Linked DNA regions of Homo sapiens: region 2 is linked to region 1. The links are contacts of gene promoters, found by promoter capture Hi-C in human tissues and cell types (Jung and others, 2019). All regions are on one chromosome and are shown on one strand. The core of a region is centred on a gene start or on the middle of the fragment in contact, and the rest is flanking DNA. Distances in the headings are between cores, read along the strand shown.

Region 1 (3,067 bases), core at 305-2,804:
TGCCAGTAACTATAAAGCTAGCCCACAACTCAACTGGCAGCCACATCTTAACCCTGCATTGTTCCCTGCTTCTCACGAAATTCTATTAGCTCCCATATAGTGTTTGTGTGGAAATGTCCCCCAAAAGAAACTTACAGTTTAAAATGTTTTTTTTCGGTTATGTTTTACTATAGTTTATGGGGACATTATTTGTAATACTTAAGAACTTAGAAATTCTGTAAGTCCCAGATAAATCCTTTGTGGATATTCGGAAACTATGGAAACTGTAGTTTTGTTAGGATTACAATCAAGGCTCAACAAATATGTATTGGCAATAAGCCTAAACCTTTACATTGTTGCAGCTATTTCAAGTAATGATTTGACTTCTGTAATTTATAAGTTTTCGTTCGGATCAATTTTGCTATCCCCATTCCATTTTAGTTATCAAAACAATTCTATTTCTTTTTCTTTTATTTCCTGTGTTGCTACAAAAAAAGGCTTTTAAGATTGGACTTATTTGAAATGAAACAGAAAGAAGACATAAGAGAAGCATATGCAACTAAAGACAATGCCCCTGGGCAGGGCCTGATGAGAAACATGGACCCCGCAACAGGGAAAATAACTTGAAACCCACGCAAGAAGATATTCCTTATGTATTCGTTCAATATTTATTCAAGGGTGAAGCCAAGTGCTCTATGGAGGAAGGGTGGAGCAAGAATCCGGGTGTTGCCCAACTTCTCCTGGTTAATGCACCACAGTCAAAGAATCCACCTCTGGTCCCAACTTACACACACTGCTCAGCAAAAAGTGGTGCGGAGTCAATTAGACTCGCCCTCCTTAAATGTCAATTAGTCAACAAATACGCCTTCACCCGAATGTGCCATCCCTCAGGAGGAGGGAGGTGGATCTCAGCTTCCACCCCAAATAGCAGCATACAGCATTCTCTATAATTACACACAGCATACAGGTGGGAACTGTTAACGACTGTTATCTTCCTTTCGTTACGATTTCAGTGCTGTTTTGACGCCCCAGTGATGTCTTTAGTGGTTGTTGCATGGCCCAGCCGCCGCATGGGATCTGCGCCCGGAGCCTGCCTTTAAGCCTCTGAGCATCCACAGGGTAGGAGGCGCAGAGGAGACCGGAGCCGCGGGGCCAGGGTGAAGAACTGTCCTGCCTCGCTGGGTAATGCGGTCCAGCCCCGGACCCACGCCCTGGCCTCTCTCCGGGTCCGCCGCAGCCCCGGCCTGTCAGAATTCGGTTCCCACCCACTCCCAGCTAGTGGAGGTCAGTGCGGTCTCTGACTCCGACCTGCCCAGCGCGGAGTCAGCCGCGGAGACTGCAGCCGCAGCGGAAGGCAGGCTGCCCTGACTGCCGGGAGCGGCTCCACGCAAACTCCTGACGCCTCAGCCAGGCCCCAGAGGCACTGGGCAACCAGGGTGCTCCGCTGCCCGACAGGGGCTGACCAGCGCAGATGCTCGCCCGCCGCCGCCCCCCGCGGACTCCCCACTCCCAGCAGACCCAGTTCTCACCTCTCGGGGCAGCCATGGTTCCCCGACAGCCCCCCGCGGAACTGACGCCCGCCCCCTCCGCGCCCCCGCGCAGGACACCGGGGACCGCCCCTTGTGGTCATAGAGACGAAGCCGCTCGGCCTAGAGCGCCTCGCCGGCCTCCCGGTCGGCCACGCACTAAAACTGGGCTCAGGAATCCAAGCTACACCCCAAAATGGGGAGAACGCGGATCGAAGGGAGGCCTTCCCGGCCGCGTCCTAGGTGACAGGTGTGTGAAATTCGGTTGGGGAGGTAGTTCTGTAAACTGCGTCTCCCCGCCAGCTAAGGAAGTTGAGTGAAGGGAGCGTTGCCGTCTGGGAATCGTAGTCCTCACAAAGGCGTGAGTAGGCGGCAAATAAGGATTTGGGTTTAGCCTTGGGGATTCACTCCTGTCAAAGCTGTTAGAGAAGCTCCCAGAACTCGTAAAGTAACAGAAACTACTTGCGGCAACATTTGTAACTTCCACCTGGCTCATTATCTTCCACTGTTACCTTGTGTTCTAGATAAGTTATAATTTATTCTACATATCGTTCAGAAGTCTTGTGCCTGTTCCATATCGTCAGCAGTCATCGGTTGTATTTACCCAGCCAGGCATTCTAACTAATGATCTTCGCACAACAAAACGGCCTTTAAAAAATCAGATGTATCGGCCGGGCGTGGTGGCTCACGCCTGTAATCCCAGCACTTTGGGAAGTCGAGGCAGATGGATCACCTAAGGTCAGGAGTTCGAGACCAGCCTGGCCAATATGGCGAAACCCCGTCTTTACTAAAAATACAAAAAATTAGCCGGGCGTGGTGGCGCGCACCGGTAATCCCAGCTACTCAGGAGGCCGAAGCGGGAGAATCACTTGAACCCGGGAGATTGCAGTGAGCCGAGATTGCGCCCCTGCACTCCAGCCTGGGCGACACAGCGAGACTTCGTCTCAAAAAACAAAAAAAATTAGATATATCAACAGGCATTTTAACCACTATAATCTCCACTTTCACTAGGGGATGTTAATTAGCTATCATAATTGATATTAGAAATAATTCATTGGTGAAATAAATGATGTTCAAGATATGTGGATTGGTTTAAAATAATATGAAAATACCTCAGCACTTACAGGAATAGGGATGCAAGATTCTGAGCTGCCCAGCAGCCCACACCTTCTGCAGCATGTTCTTTCCCCAAAATTGTCCTTTTAGAGGGTTGGTTGTATACCATTGTCTTGTTAAATATACATATAGATATATCTGGTCTGTTAACATTGTTGGAACATTTTGCATGCCTTATTAGCATCATATTAATATTGGGAGGGGCTCCCAGGAGACCAGAGTTGACTTTGTAGAGGCAGACATTTGATTAATCTCATTTTGCAATAGTGTTGGACTTTTCCTCTACCTGGTAGTAAGTGTGCTCACTGGTGCTAATCTTCCCTTATTGTAATTGATACAGTTTCCACTAGTAGAATTATTCAGTTCTCTACTGTGTATGTACTTATGCATACATTTAAACAATATTCATATATGTACGTGAAATTAATTTTAAAAATTAAAAATAT
Region 2 (3,067 bases), core at 335-2,834, 290 kb before region 1:
CCCGGGAGGTGGAGGTTGCAGTGAGCTGAGATCGTGCCACTGCACTCCAGCCTGGGTGACAGAGCAAGACTCCATCTCAAAAAAAAAAAAAAAAAAAATATATATATATATATATATATATATATATAGAGAGAGAGAGAGAGAGAGAGAGAGAGAGAGAGAGCCCCTGAATGGTTCACTAACAATGAATTACATTCTAAGCTTGGTTGGACTAAGTTCTCTATTATTTACTGGTAATTACAACATATACCTTGATTTCTCACTCTAGTTAGCACTATAGGAAAGACATCCAGTAAGAGGCTAGTTTACCCCCTTTGTTAAGTCGTTAGAACCATTCAGATCCTTTGAGTCTGAGATAAATCGATACTACATCCCAGCTGTGAATTGCTGCTGCTTACTTCTTGGCTTCATCTCTCCTTCTCCTTCTTTGGTCTCTTGTCTTTATTTCTACATGGAGCCTTCAGAAAGGAGACATCCAAACCCAGGTCCTGTCTGTATTGTAGCAACATTAAAGATTCCTTGGGGCCCTGCTCTCCACTCATACATGTTTGCCTTGGTGTCCTATTTCCAGATCTTTGACTGCAGTCTCAAGAGGACAAGACAAAGATATTTATTCTTCCCAGTCTTCTTTTTCTTTTTGAGATGGTGTCTCACTCTGTCACCCAGGGTGGAGTGCAGTAGTGTGATCTTGGCTCACTGCAACCTCCACCTCCTGCGTTCAAGCAATTCTCCTGCCTCAGCCTCCCAAGTAGCTGGGATTACAGGCGCGCACCACCACGCCCAGCTAATTTTTGTATTTTTAATACAGACGGGGTTTCACCATGTTGGTCAGGCTGGTCTCGAACTCCCGACCTCGTGATCCGCCTGCCTTGGCCTCTCCAAGTGCTGGGATTATAGGCATAAGCCACCGTGCCCGGCCATCTTTCACAGTCTTTTAGAATTCTTCTTGCTCCCCGCTGCTGCCATCCCAACGCTCTGAATTAGGGAAGTGTGAAATGTTGTCACATATCACACATCCTGAGATCAGAGACTCCCATAGAACTTCTCTTCCGGAAGGTTTTACTTTTGAAGACACAGACCCTTTGAATGAAGGGGGAAGACATTGGGAAGAGAATGATAAGATAGGATTGCCCTCCAGCTTCTCCTTTAGAAATGTTTTCCTAGATTTTAGCTAGGGTGGGGAAAAGTGGCTGGAAGGGGGAACAAAAGGTATTTCCATTTTTGTTGCTTTGTCCTAGTCTCAAAAATATAGGCTCAACACATACAGCCTCAACATCAGATTCCATCCATGAGACTTCCCTGTCCATATTTAATGAGTTAGCATTCTTTATAAGTCTCTTTTATATATTCTCTTTGAAACTCTTTAAAGTCTGGCTGGGCGCAGTGGCTCATGCCTGTAATACCAGCACTTTGGGAGGCAGAGGCGGGCAGATCACTTGAGGTTAGAAGTTCGAGACCAGCCTGGCCAATTTGATGAATCCCTGTCTCTACTAAAAATACAAAAATTAGGCCAGGCACAGTGGCTCACGCCTGTAATCCCAGAACTTTGGGAGGCCGAGGTGGGAGGATCAGGAGGTCAAGAGATCAAGACCATCCTAGCCAACATGGTGAAACCCCATCTCTACTAAAAATACAAAAATTAGCCGGGCGTGGTGGTGGGTGCCTTTAATCACAGCTACTCAGAAGGCTGAGGCAGGAGAATCACTTGAACCCGGGAGGTGGAGGTTGCAGTGAGCCGAGATTGCACCACTGTATTGCAGCCTGGCAACAGAGTGAGACACCGTCTCGCAAAAAAAAAAAAAAAAAAAAAAAAAAATTAGCTGGGCGTGGTGGTGCACACGTATAGTCCCAGCTACTTGGGAGTCTGGGGCAGGAGAATCGCTCGAACCGGGGAGGCGGAGGTTGTAGTGAGCCGAGATAGTGCCATTGCACTCCAGCCTGGGTGACAAGAGCGAAACTCCATCTCAAAAAAAATTTAATTTAATTAAAAAAAATAAAGTTTAAGACCATCTATATATTTGTATTATTATGTTTTTATTATCCAAATCTGGAAATAAATACCTGTAAACTACTTTGCCAGAAAGTATTTTTCTAAGGAGATGCTCGTCTCAAAACACGAATGGATTCATACAACATCCAGCAACCCTGATGGGGCCCAGCCTCTGCTCTTTGCTGTTTGTATGTCATGATTTCAGCTCACATAACATCCTCACTGTCCCTTCATGACCCTCTCACCAAGGAGACCCATATCTAGTAAAATCAATCCAGCCTGCAGTCTTAAATAAACAAATATAACTGGAGAAGACAAGAGATTAATGACTGCAACCAAGAGAACATGAGCTTCAAAATTGTGAGGCACACAACATCAGATTTCACTGCTCATAATCTAATGCACCAACTTGCTGGGATCATCAAGAAAAAATATATAATTTGCTTTCTTTCTTTGTAAATGTTAAAAATAATTCAGCATTTTCGTTGAAACTTTGGCATCAAAACAAATTGTACAGTTGTAGCTCTACATTCCACATAATTATGAAGAGTTGTTTCACTTTCAGAGGTTAGAGTATATTGTCAAGTCTTGTATTCTACCTTGAAAATATTGTATAACCCAGATGAACTGTCACTTTTCCAGCTTTACTGCCACTGGTCCTTCTGGACATGGTCTTATCTTGCTGGGACTTCTCTAGGAGCCTCTTAATCAATCTTCCTATGTTCACCTCTCCAATCCTCTCTCCGTGCAGCAGCCCAGGCTAAAACATAAATTCTTTATATCATTTCCCTATTTAATGGCTCTCTAATGGCTTCTTTTGGAATAAAGATAAAACTTAGAATTATTATTTATTTATTTATTTATTTATTTATTTATTTATTTATTTTGTGACAGAGTCTCATTCTGTTGCCCAGGCTGGAGTGTAGTGGCAAAATCTCAGCTCACTGCAACCTCTGCCTCCTAAGTTCAAGCAATTCTCCTGCCTCAGCCTCCTGAGTAGCTGGGACAACTGGCGCCCACCACCATGCCCAGCTAATTTTTGTATTTTTAGTAGAGATGGAGTTTCACCATGTTGGC

The links. The method cuts DNA at HindIII sites, captures the fragments that hold promoters and counts their contacts. A contact is called where the count stands out against the background at its distance.
Region 2: a contact is called between a fragment that was not itself captured here and the fragment with the promoter of SLC35A1 in region 1, in 1 of the 25 tissues and cell types used here (H1 embryonic stem cells).

Annotation. Positions count from the first base shown.
Region 1 is chr6:87,471,461-87,474,527 of GRCh38, reverse strand. It overlaps SLC35A1 (solute carrier family 35 member A1), which reads right to left and starts at 1,554. Exons shown (of 8, transcript NM_006416.5): 1 at 1,509-1,554. The coding sequence starts at 1,524. It overlaps LOC124901357 (a long non-coding RNA gene), which reads left to right and starts at 1,583. Exons shown (of 2, transcript XR_007059668.1): 1 at 1,583-1,755; 2 at 2,030-3,067. RefSeq lists enhancers at 686-785, 836-1,005, 1,001-1,907 and a silencer at 1,456-1,595. The HindIII fragment of the contact is 15,167 bases long and covers 1-3,067 here.
Region 2 is chr6:87,765,613-87,768,679 of GRCh38, reverse strand. No RefSeq gene overlaps it. Among named protein-coding and RNA genes, the nearest start is that of AKIRIN2, 65 kb to the right of the region's middle. The HindIII fragment of the contact is 7,224 bases long and covers 1-3,067 here.